2 separate regions of the Homo sapiens genome follow, and region 2 is linked to region 1. The links are contacts of gene promoters, found by promoter capture Hi-C in blood cells and fetal thymus (Javierre and others, 2016). All regions are on one chromosome and are shown on one strand. The core of a region is centred on a gene start or on the middle of the fragment in contact, and the rest is flanking DNA. Distances in the headings are between cores, read along the strand shown. Region 1 holds the start of INSM2 (INSM transcriptional repressor 2). Region 2 overlaps PRORP (protein only RNase P catalytic subunit).

Evidence for each region. The method cuts DNA at HindIII sites, captures the fragments that hold promoters and counts their contacts. A CHiCAGO score of 5 or more calls a contact.
Region 2: a fragment that was not itself captured here is called in contact with the fragment with the promoter of INSM2 in region 1 in 1 of 17 cell types (fetal thymus); the score reaches 5.6 in fetal thymus.

What each region holds. Positions count from the first base shown.
Region 1 is chr14:35,530,694-35,536,769 of GRCh38, reverse strand. It overlaps INSM2 (INSM transcriptional repressor 2), which reads right to left and starts at 2,606. Exons shown (of 1, transcript NM_032594.4): 1 at 1-2,606. The coding sequence starts at 2,517. The coding sequence ends at 817. RefSeq lists enhancers at 517-1,339, 1,510-1,659, 1,340-2,163, 2,164-2,987, 2,988-3,812 and silencers at 2,620-2,989, 3,090-3,169. The HindIII fragment of the contact is 12,180 bases long and covers 1-4,899 here.
Region 2 is chr14:35,144,037-35,150,112 of GRCh38, reverse strand. All of the region lies in intron 4 of PRORP (protein only RNase P catalytic subunit), which reads right to left. All of the region lies in intron 4 of PRORP-PSMA6 (PRORP-PSMA6 readthrough), which reads right to left. It also overlaps the pseudogene RPL23AP70. Among named protein-coding and RNA genes, the nearest start is that of PRORP, 25 kb to the right of the region's middle. The HindIII fragment of the contact is 525 bases long and covers 3,382-3,906 here.

The DNA of each region.
Region 1 (6,076 bases), core at 1,357-3,856:
TAAACAATTTGGGTGAAACCCCATTAAAACAGTCAAACTTGAGGAAACGACTTCTGTATTTCCAAAAAGCCATTTAAAGAAAGGTTTGAAGTAGCTCTTCCTGAATACTGCCCACAAAATAGCTGAGGGTGAGAATTTTAGGGGGTGTCTCAACTCCAGTAAAGTAGCATCCTCCCCACCTCCAAACACCAACTTAAGAATGGACATGTACATATAATTGGGCAAAGGAAAGTTTACAGGGGAGATCCCCATGCACCCCAAAAGCAGCAAAAATCCTCTTACATTTTCTGCCAGGTCTTGAATCTCCTTAAGTTTGACACCAATCACATAACTTTTAATTCACAGAATATACAGTGCAAAATATCTGACCCTATTGAGACAGAAGCTGTATAGGCGCCTGTGATGACAAGACAAAAAAAACATTGGCTACCAAAGGGTAGCCAGAATCCTTTGTGGACATTGAGACATGCACGCATTCACCGCGACTTTCCATAGGAATTACAAATCATATAGGATTCGTTAGGGTCTCCAGAGTTTTAAGGGGAAAAATCCTATTTTAGTGGGGAAAGTGAGAAGGATTTAAAGCTGACAGTCTTTGATCTCAAGGTTTATACCATATACATACCTGCTCTAGAGAGGGATATTACATTTCACTGTCCGCTCCTCTGGTGGAACATTGACTACAGGGAGAATTTTAGGGGATTAAAACATAGGAAGGAATGAAAGTAAACTTGCAAGTTGAAGAAAGCCCCACAGAAATTCCCATGATCTGTTTCCTCTAAGGCCAACCTCGAAATCATCCTGGTCTCTCGTCCCTCAGCAGCCAGGCCGCAGTGGCATCTGCAGCAGCAGCACTTGCCGGCTTTCTGAGGGGTGGCACTTATTGATGTGCCGGGTCAGCCCTGGAGAGCTAAAAAAAGTGGACGGGCAGTGCTTGCACGAGAAAATTTGCTGGGCACTCCCGTCAGATGGCCCGCTAGGGCCCGACGTTTCGGGAGGAGCCCCCGCCAGAGCGGGCAGGAGCAGCTCCTCGCGGACAGCATGCCACAGCCGGTGCTTCTCCCTGATATCTGCTGTAGGGAAGTGCGCTCCGCACAATGGGCAAGCGAAGGCAAGTGGGGCACCGCGTTCGGAGCCAAAGCCCGGCGCTAGCGCACGGGCCGAGCCCGCCTCGTGAGTGCTCAGGTGCTTGCGCAGATAGGCTTGGCGACGAAACTTTTTGTGGCAATATGGGCACACGAAAATCTCGGATCCCCTGCCACCACTGGTACTGCCCGGCACAGGTACCCGGCGCCCCAACACCCCCTCCGTGTAGGGGCCCTGAGGCAGCGGTGGCTCTGGATGCGTCAGCACCTGGAGGCCCTGCCTCGGGGCGCTGTCCGGGTGCTGATCCGCCCCGGAGCTGTCCCTGGCCTGCGGGTGCTGATCCGCAGTCCGCTCTATTCGGCTGTTCTCCTTTCCCTCCGCCAGAAAAGATGCAATGGCCCCGGAGTCCCGGGAGGACGAAGACGACGAAGAAGGCGGCTTCCCGTCGGCGGAGGAGACTGTGGCGGCGTTTGCAGCCGCAGGACGCGGCTTATGCCAGCGGCGATGGGAGGCCAGGTTCGCAGGACAGCTGAACACCTTGTCGCACTCAGGGCAGCGGTACTCTACGCGCACGATGCGGGAGCAGCGGTGCTGGGCCAGCGCGAAGGGGTCTGCGTACTGCTCCTTGCACAGCTGGCAGATGAACTCCCCCAGTGGCGTGCGGCTGCCCCCCAAGCCCCGGGACGGCGCTCCGGGCTCCTCCTCCTTGATCTTCAGGCCCAGGACAGGGGATGTGGTCACCTCATCGGCAAAGCTCAACTTCCTCATGGCCTTTGGCTTCTTGATTCCCGCGGCCGCGGGTCCAGACGCGCAGTCCGTGGGTGCCTTGCCGCGGCGCTCGCCGCCGGCCGCCCGCTTCAGACTCTGAAGGGCGGCCGAGAGGGGCGCAGGGTCCGGCTGAAGCGCGGGCTCTGGGAACGGCGCCCGAAGCGGCAGCAGAAACTGCTCCCCCGGGGTCGGTGCGGCTGCTGGCGCCACGGAGCAGGAGAAAGCGGCCACGGCGGCGGCGCCCCCGGGGAAAGACTCGGCGGAGACGGGCGAGCTGAGGCAGCGCTCCAGGAACGCCCGACGCAGCTCTGCGCCTGCCGGCTTCGCTGGACTGGGGCTGGGGCTGGGGCTGGGCCCGGGACCTTCCCTGCCACCCGCCCGCCACTCCGCGCCTTCCCGCCCGCCCGTCCCCGGGCTCACCCCAGCCGCCCGACATGGCGACCCCGACTGTTCCCGGGCCGCCTCCGCCGTCAACCCCTTTCCTGGTTCCTCTCGGGTGGGGGGTGTCGCCCGCTCCGCGCCGGGCAAGGAGGCGCTGGGAGCCTCCTCCAAGAAGGGCGGCGCCCCCTGGGGCCCCAGCAGAGGGAAGACACGCTCCGCAAGGCGAACTCGGTACAAGCCGCCTGTCCGTTTAGTTCGCTTCACCAGGAATCCCCTTGGCATGGTGGAGTCGAGAGCGCTCTGGGACAAGAGGAAAGGGGGCGCCACGGGGACTGAGAGCCGGCCAGCAGATGAACTAGAAGAGCTTCGCCGCGGCTGTCATGCCGGGGCTATCTTTATAGCTGAGACGCGGGCCGGGGTCCCGCCGGGCCTCCCCGGGCTGGCCCGGCCAATCAGGAGTGGGAGCGGGCGCCGGGGGCGGGGCTTTCTCCCGTGCCGATTCACTGGAGTAGACGAATCTGGCGGCGGCGGCGGCGCACGCCCAGCCCCGCCTCACAGCGCCGCGAACCTGCCCCTGTGGCCGGCTGGGTCCGCCTCCCCCTGCAGCCTCCCGGGCGAAGACGCCAGAAGGTAAGGTCCAGAGTGTGAGGGAGCTCGACACTCCCCGCCTTGGCTGCCTCCGCGGAGCGTCCCACTGGGGAGCCGGGCGAAAAGGCCACCTCACGACGCCCTCCGCTCGGGCCGGGACCCGGCTGCCCCCAACGCGAGGGCGTCTGGCTGAAAAGCTCCCGCTCTGCGCCGGACGGCCGAGCGGAAGGGGCGGTGGGCAGAAGGTGCGGCGGAGACCACGGGGTGGGTGTCCGGGAGGGAACCGGTGCACGTCCTCTGCGGGTATTGAGCTGATGAGAAGTGCGACCGAGCGGCCGGACAGCTGACTGCACCGCCCTGTGGCTGCTGTCGGCGGCGGGAGCACGTCCGCCCGCCGGTATCGATCGGGCCCGCGCGCGGCGGCGACACTCGAGAGTTCATCTCCGCAGAAGGGCTCTCAGCGCGGGAGAGCGTGCCTGCCCGCCGCCAGCCTCCGAGTCGGGACGCCCGAGCGCGGCTGGGTCCTGGGCGTCTGCGCTCTTAAGTGCTTCTCGATAGGAGCAGGAGTAGGGAGAGGAAAGGAGGATCTCATTTTCCACTGTCCTCGCATAAAGTGGTTTCTCTGTTCACACTTTCCACTTGTACTACCCAGAGTATGACTTAATTCCTAACCGGCCTGTTTAGCATGGAGTAGATTGAGTGAGAAATGCCGGCGGAATCAGCATTACAGCTGCTTCCCCGTACACCACAAGTGATACTTTGCAAAAGGTGTGCTGTAGAGCAAACTCAACAGATTTTCATCTGGCACCCTGCAATGCTCCCACCACTATTTTGAGAACTAGAAGAGGTTTGAAAGTGTTTAGTAGTAATTGAACTAGGCAACAATTAGACCATCTATGACAGATATAAAGTGCCAAGATCCATAATATAGGTAAATAAAGTGTGAGAACAGGAAGGGGAAAGACTATGTGCACAAGTCTCCTTACTAAACCAAATTGGAGAAAAAGACTGACAGAGGTGTTTTAAAAGTACACGATAGCATAACAGATGTAGTCATCAATAAAACACATTGTCTTTCTTCAGTGAAGTATTTTTACAGGGAGAACATTATTTTGAGAAAGATTTGGAAGTAATTATATATTAATCATTGACTATGTTATAGGCATTCTGCTTAAGTAATCTCTAATCTTCATACACACGCACACAACATGTACACACACAAACCAAAAAGGAGATATTATTTCTCTCTTTTTTCAATGTGGTGATTGAGCCATTTAGTTAGATAATGGGTAAAAGCCAAGCAGAGCTCAGATTCAAACTTGTTCTGGCTAATTCCAAAGCCCAGACTCTTTCCACTACACCAATGGCTTCAAACTATTTTTTTCCTTAATCACATCCCACAATAATAAATGTGTTCTATAGTATATACACACATGTAACTGAAACAAAAGTCTCACAAAATAATACTGTGGGTCCTAATCTATTTGTAAATTATGAAATCATACATTGAAATGTTTGCAGTGCATTCTCATATTTTTCATTGTATTGTATTTTGTTTCTTAAAAATAGCAGTCATAGAAAATACATTGATTTCATAATTTACAAATGGATTAGGACCCACAGTTTGAAAAACACTCATTATATTGTCTCATTAAATAGCATGAAATGATACAAAATTAAATAAACCTGATACTGCATAATCACAATATCTGAACCACTGTTTAAAATATTTGAGTCCTTTAGCAGTGTTGGTAAACTTAGTTTCCCAAATTGGTCATTTCTGACATGTCAGCTTATATGTGACTTCTAACTCAAATTCTCAATTCTCCTTTCCTCCTCATGATCCATACATATTGTGTGGTGTGGAAAATCTGATGTAATAATTTTAATACTTTAAGATAACCCCTTTTCCAGAGAGAGAAAGGACTCTTCCCCAGGGGCATAGTACTTTGTAAGAATTGCTGTCAGATATTTTCTACCAGATCCGATAGTTCCAATAGCTCTCTCCTTCCCTTCCCAAGTGTAATTTAATAACATCCTTTCTGGAAATCATTGTAACAATTTACATCAGAAGCTTTAAAAAGTATGTATACATTTAATCTACCAATTCCTCCTTTAGTAAGTCATCCAAAAGAAGAGCGAAGATTTATGCACAAAGCTGTTTATCACAGTGTTATTTGTAATTATAAATAATCAGAAACCATCTTGAGTAAACTATAGTATAGCCGTGTTATAGATGATTACGTAGCTTTAAAAATGTAATGATAGAGACAAACATATATACCATAACTAAGCAAAAACAGCAGGCAGCAAAAGTTGCTTGTACAATAAAGAGCTCAGTTATGAAAAAAACGAAATGCATATAAGACAGTGGAAGGAAATATGCCAAAATGTTGTTGGGATTGCCTCTAGTAAGTAGGAATTCAAATAGTCTTTTTTTAACTTTTTTGTTAAAATATTTTGCAATAATCGTATATTACTCTGATAATCAGAAAAAAAAAAATTGCAAAACTGCCTTAAATCCTTTCTGGAGTTAAATGTGGTACCCTTCCCCTAGGATACTAGCACACTGCAACATCAAATGGAGAACTGTACAGATAAGTAGCATTCTCCAGGGCCATCTGTTTGAAATCTGGCCCTAGAAGAGAGTTGACAAGCCTCAATCATGCCACAGGCCTTCTAGTTGAAGAACACTTTTGGGAAAAGACTAAGGGTTAAAAGATAGAAAGGATTAAAATGTGGGGAAGAGAAAGAATTTAAATGCGTAATCCCCCCTTGGGTATAAACTTAGATGATCCTTCAAGATACAAACACTCTTTCTGTAGTTTCTCACTTAAAAATTACGATAAATAGGGCATTGCCAAAGCAAGATTATAAAATCTTTGTTTTATTTAATATCTACCTCCTTTCTCTTCACAAAAAGATTAAACATTCAGGACCTTCATCTGCTCTCAGTTATACTTTGGTAAAAACTCATACGCACTGGATTATCTCTCAAGCTATTTACATTTTCTGCTTTCTCTAATTGCGGGATACATTTAATTTAAATTCAGAAATTTTGAGACAATAGAAATCGGAACATTTTTTGAAGAGAGAGGAGACTTCTTCTTGCCCTGAAATCAGTGTGTATAAGACAGGCTCAGATGACTAACCTGCTTTTTATCACTTGAATATCTGGGAGATTACTCAGAAGGAACTTTATTTCTTCTGTTTCTCTGCCCCCTCACCTCCACTTAGACATGTCCCTGTAAAA
Region 2 (6,076 bases), core at 2,395-4,894, 390 kb after region 1:
ACATTTTGGGAGGCCGAGGCAGGCGGATCACTTGAGGCCAGAAGTTCCAGACCAGCCTGGGAAACATGGCGACACCCCATCTCTACTAAAAATTAGCCGGTGTGGTGACACATGCCTGTAATCCCCAGCTACTCGGGAGGCTGAGGCATGAGGATTGCTCAACTGAACCTGGGAGGCAGAGGTTGCAGTGAACTGAGATTATGCCGCTGCACTCCAGCCTGGGTGATAGAGTGAGACTCTGTCTCCCCGCCTTAAAAAACAAAACAAAACAAAACAAAAAAGCTAAGATAGGCCAAAAGCTAGGTACCAAACTTTGCAAATGCAAAGTTCTCGAAAGAAATCAGAAGTGCTACTTCAGTGAACAAATAAATGATAAGAAAGCAAAATAGCCTTATTGCTGATATGAAGAAAGTTTTGGTGGTCTGGATGAAACATCAAACCAGCCACAACATTCTCTTAAGCCAAAGCAAGACCTGAATGCTTCAATTCCACAAAGGCTGACAGAGGTGATGAAGCCGTAGAAGAAAAGTTGGAGGCCAGCAGAATTTGGCTCAAGAGGTTTAAGAAAATAAGCAATCCCCATAACATAAAAATGCAAGGTGCCAGTCATGGTTGCTCACACCTGTAATCACAGTACTTTGGGAGGCTGAAGCAAGAGGATCACTTGAGGTCAGGCGTTCGAGACCAGTCTGGGCAACATAGCAAGATCCTATCTCTACAAAAAATTTAAAAATGATCCAGGTATGGTGGTATGCCTGTAGTCCTAGCTACTTGGGAGGCCTAGATGGGAGGATTACTTGAGCACAGGAGTTCGAGGCCCCAGTGGACTATGATCATAGCACCACACTCCAGCCTGGATGACAGAATGAGACACTGTATTAAAAAAAAAAATTAGGCCGGGCGCGGTGGCTCACGCTTGTAATCCCAGCACTTTGGGAGGCCGAGGCGGGCGGATCACGAGGTCAGGAGATCGAGACCATCCTGGCTAACACGGTGAAACCCCATCTCTACTAAAAATACAAAAAAATTAGCCGGGCGTGGTGGCGGGCGCCTGTTGTCCCAGCTACTCGGGAGGCTGAGGCAGGAGAATGGCGTGAACCTGGGAGGCGGAGCTTGCAGTGAGCCGAGATTGCGCCACTGCACTCCCACCTGGGCCACAGAGCGAGACTCCGTCTCAAAAAAAAAAAAAAAAAAAAAAAAATTAAAAAGTGCAACATGTAGGCTGCTGGGAGGTTATGGGCACAGACTGGTGGAACCAACACAAAAAACAAAAAAAGTGCAAGGTGAAGCAGCAAGTACTCATGTAGAAGCTGCAGCAAGCTATCCAGAAGATCTAAGATCACTGATGAAGGTGGCTACACTAAGCAACAGATTTTCCGTGGAGACAAAACAGCCCCTTCTATTGGAAGAAGATGCCATCTAGAATTTTCATAGCTAGAGAGAAGTCAATGCTTGACTTCAAAACTTCAAGGGACAGGCTGACTCTCTTGTTATGGGCTAATACAGCTGGTGACTTTATTGAAGTCAATGCCCGTTTACCATTCCAAAAATCTTAGAGTCCTTAACAATTATGCTGAATCTCCTCTGCCTATGCTCTATCAATGGAACAAAGCCTGGCTAACAGCACATCTGTCTACAGCATGGTTTACTGAATATTTCAAGCCCACTGTGGAGACCTACTGCTCCAAAAAAAAGACTCTTCAAAATATTATTGCTCAGTGACAATGCACTTAGTCACCCAAGAGCTCTTATGGAGATGTATAAGGAGATGAAAGTTGTTTTCATGTCTACCAACACAACATCCATTCTAAAGCCCATGGATAAAAGAGTAAATTCGACTTTCTAGTCTTATTATTTGAAAAACATGTTTTGTAAGGCTATAGCTGTCATAGACAGTGATTGCTCTGAAGGATTTGGGCAAAGTCAACGGAAAACTTTCTGGAAAGGATTCACCGATCTACATGCCACTAAGAACATTTGTGATTCATGGAAAGAGGTTGAAATATCAACAGTAACAGGTTTGGAAGAAGTTGACACCAACCCTCATGGATGACTCGGAGGGATTCAAAATTTCAGTGGAAGAAGGAACTGCAGATATGGTGGAAATAGCAAGAGAACTAGAATTAGAAGTGGAGCCTGAAGATGTGACTGAATTGCTTCAATCACAAAATAAAACTTGGATTAGGAATTTCTTCTTATGGATTAGCAAAGAAAGTGGTTTCTTGAAATAAAACTCACTCCTAGTAGACACGTTGTAAATATTGTTAAAATGATAACAAAGAATTTAGAATATTACGTAAACTTAGTTGACAAGGCAGCAGCAGGATTTCAGAGGATTGACTCCAATTTTGAAAAAAGTTCTAATGTGGTAAAATGCTTTCAAAAAGCACTGCATGCTGCAGAAAAATATTTTGTGATAAGAAGAGTCAATTTATGTGGCAAACTTCATTATTGTCTTATTTTAAGAAATTGCCACACAGTGGCTCATGCCTGTAATCCCAGCATGTTGGGAGGCTGAGGTGGGTGGATCGTTTGAGCCCAGGAGTTCAAGACCAGCCTGGGCAATGTGGCAAAACCCCAGCTCGACAAAAAATTAGAAAAAATTAGCTAGACATGGTCATGTGAGCTTGTAGTTGTAGCTACTCAGGAGGCTGAGGTGGGAGGATCATGTGAGCCTGAGAAGTGGAGGCTACAGTAAGCCATGATCTTGCCAGTGCACTCCAGCCTGGGTGACAGAGTGAGACCCTGTCTCAAAAAAATAAAGAAATTGTCATAGCTATCCCAGCCTTCAACAAACACCACCACTTTGATCAGTCAGCAGCCACCAACATCAAGGCAAGACTTGCCATCAGCAAAAAGATTACAACTTGCTGAAGGCTCAGATGACCACCAGCATATTTTTTAGCAATAAGGTATTTTTAAATTAAGGTATCTATATATATTTTTTTAGACATAATGCTATTGCACACTTAATAGTCTACAGCATAGTGGAAAGATAAGTTTTGTTGTTGTTTAGAGGCAGAGTCTCACTCTGTCTCCCAGGCTGGAGTTCAGTGGCACAATCACAACTCATTGTAACCTTGAACTCCTGGGCTTGAGTGATCCTACAAACTCAGCCTTCCAAAGTAGCTAGGACTACAGGTACACACCACCAAGCCGAGCTAACTAAAAAAAAAATTTTTTTGTAGAGATGGGATCTCACTATGTTCCCCGGGCTGGTGTCGAACTCCTGGCCTCAAGCAATGTTCCTGCCTGGGCCCCAAAGCACTGGGATTACAAGTGTGAGCCACCATATCCAGCCATGGAAAGATAACTTTTATACGACCTGGGTAACCAAAAAATTTGTGTGACTCACTTTATTGCAATATTTACGATAAAGCTTAGAACCAAACTTGCAATGTCTTCAAGGTATGCCTGTACTTTAAAACACATGGTTTAAAACTATATTTTGCAGATAATTAAATTTCTTTCTCAGATTTTTAAAAAATCACTAAACCCACAAAGTTTTCCATTTACCACACAACATTTATTTAAATCTGGGGAAAAAAACCCACAGTTCATTTTAGAGATGACAAGATCTTCAAACCCAGAGAAAAGAGAAGGTTCTGGAGACTGTGATAAAGAGCTCAGTTCACATCTTTCAGTTTGTAACCAAATAAAGAAAAAAAAATCCCTAAAGACCTAAATTAGATAAGTTCTTATACTGACATTTCATTAGGGTCATATGTCCTGTCTTAAATTTGTATTTAGAGAAACACCTCTTTGTCAATAAACTGAAGAGATACTATCAAGCAGGACAAATGATTTGCTTTAAACTTAACCCTAAAAACTCAATTAAATGTACCACGGGCAATTTGCCTGCCTTTTTTTCTTTTCCAGAAAGGAGAATCCTAAATCATTAAAGCTTTATTTAAAAACTTCTAAATCACAGAATTATGGGGACTGTGATTATGATTAAAGTTTCATTAAAAGTTCAAAATGGGGCTGAGTGCGGCGGCTCACACCTGTAATCCCAGCACTTTGGGAGGCCGAGGCGGGCGGATCACCTGAGGTCAGGAGTTTGAGACCAGCCTGGCCAACATGGTGAAACCCCTTCTTTACTAAAAATATAAAAAAATTAGCCGGGTGTGGTGGCAGGCGCCTGTAATCCCAGCTACTTGGGAGGCTGAGGCAGGAGAATCGCTTGAACCCGGGAGGCGGAGGTTGCAGTGAGCCGAGACGGTGCCATTGCACTCTAGCCTGGGCAACAAGAACAAAACTCTGTCTCAAAAAATAAAAAAATAAATAAATAAATAAATAAATAAATAATCAAATAAAATTAAAGTTCAAAATGAATGGATCATGGTGGGCTGTTTCCTTCCTTCCTTCCTTCCTTCCTTCTTTCTTTCTTTTTTGAGATGGAGTCTCGCTCTGTCGCCAGGCTGGAGTGCAGTGGCGCGATCTCAGCTCACTGCAACCTCCGCCTCCCAGGTCCAAGCAATTCTCCTGTCTCAGCCTCCTCAGTAGCTGGGACTACAGACGCATGCCACCATGCCCAGCTAATTTTTGTATTTTTAGTACAGACGGGGTTTCACCATGTTAGCCAGGATAGTCTTGATCTCTTGACCTTATGATCTGCCTGCCTCGGCCTCCCAAAGTGCTGAGATTACAGGCGTGAGCCACTGCGCCCGGCCTTTTATCTTTCTTTATAGCTATTTTGACCAAAAAAAAAATTTTCCCCTTTTCACAGGTGTTGATGAAATTTTTTATAATTAATAAATATTATAATCAGGATAAAACCCACTTCCATTTTGAAAAGTAAAAGAAAATGATTAAGAAGTCTCAATAAGAACTAAAAAAGCACCAGGTGCAGTAGCTCACGCCTGTAATCCCAGCCCTTTGGGAGGCCAAGGTTGGAGGATTACTTGAGCCCAGGAGTTCACGACAAGCCCAGGCAACAAAGTGAGATCCCCCATCTCTACAAAAAATTAAAAAATTAGCTGGTCGTGGTGGTGTGTGCCTGTAGTCTTAGCTACTCAAGAGGCTAAGGTGAGAGGATCACTTGAGCCTGGGAGGTTGAGGCTGCAATGAGCTATGATCACGCCACTGCACTCTAGTTTGGGTGACAAGGGTCTCTTAAAACAAACAAAAGAACTAAAAAAGAACATAAGAAACTAATAGAAAATATACTGAGTACTGAGACTGCTGTCTTTGTTTTAGCTTCCTTTGTTAATATGCTTGTGTAATAAGATAGAGGGAAATAAACTTTACTTGAACTTTTACAATAGAAAGAAAAAGAAAATCATATCTAAACCAGAGTACTTTCTAAAACTGTGGTTCAAGGACTGCTGGGTATCCCCAAGACCCTCTCAGGGGATCTGCAAAGTTAAAACTATTTTCATAATGCTAAGACGTTATATGCCTTTTTCACTCTCATTTGCTCACAAGTGTACAGTAGAGTTTGGGCATAGTATCAAAGAACGATTATGATTATCTCCAAGAGCCAACAAAATCCTCTTTGCTTTCCAACTACCTATTTCCATGAGCTTTCATTTTCTTCATATGCTTCTACCAAAACGCCATACCATACCACAACAGACTGAATATAGAAATAGATATAAAAATCCAGGTGTCAACCCTTTTCACCAAAATGATGATGCTGAAAGCAAAGAAGGAAATCCCTGCTCCTCCCAAAGCCAAATCCAAAGCTAAGGCTTTTAAGGCCAGCAAGGCAGTGTTGAAAGGCATCCAGTCACACACACAAAAAAATATCTGCAGGTCACCTATGTTCCAGTAGCCCAACACACTTTGGCTTTGAAGGTAGCCCAAACATCCTCAGTAGAGAACCTGCAGGATATACAAGCTGGACTATTATGCCATCAAGTTCCCCTTGACCACTGAGCTGACCATGAAGAAGACAATACCACATCTGTGTTCACTGTGGTTATCAAAGCCAACAAGCACCAGATCAAACAGGCTATATGAAGGTCTGTGACACTGACATGACCACGATCAACACCCTAATCAGGACTGATGGAGAGAAGGCAGCCTATGTTTGACTGGCTCCTAACTATGATGTTTTGGATGTTGCCAGTAA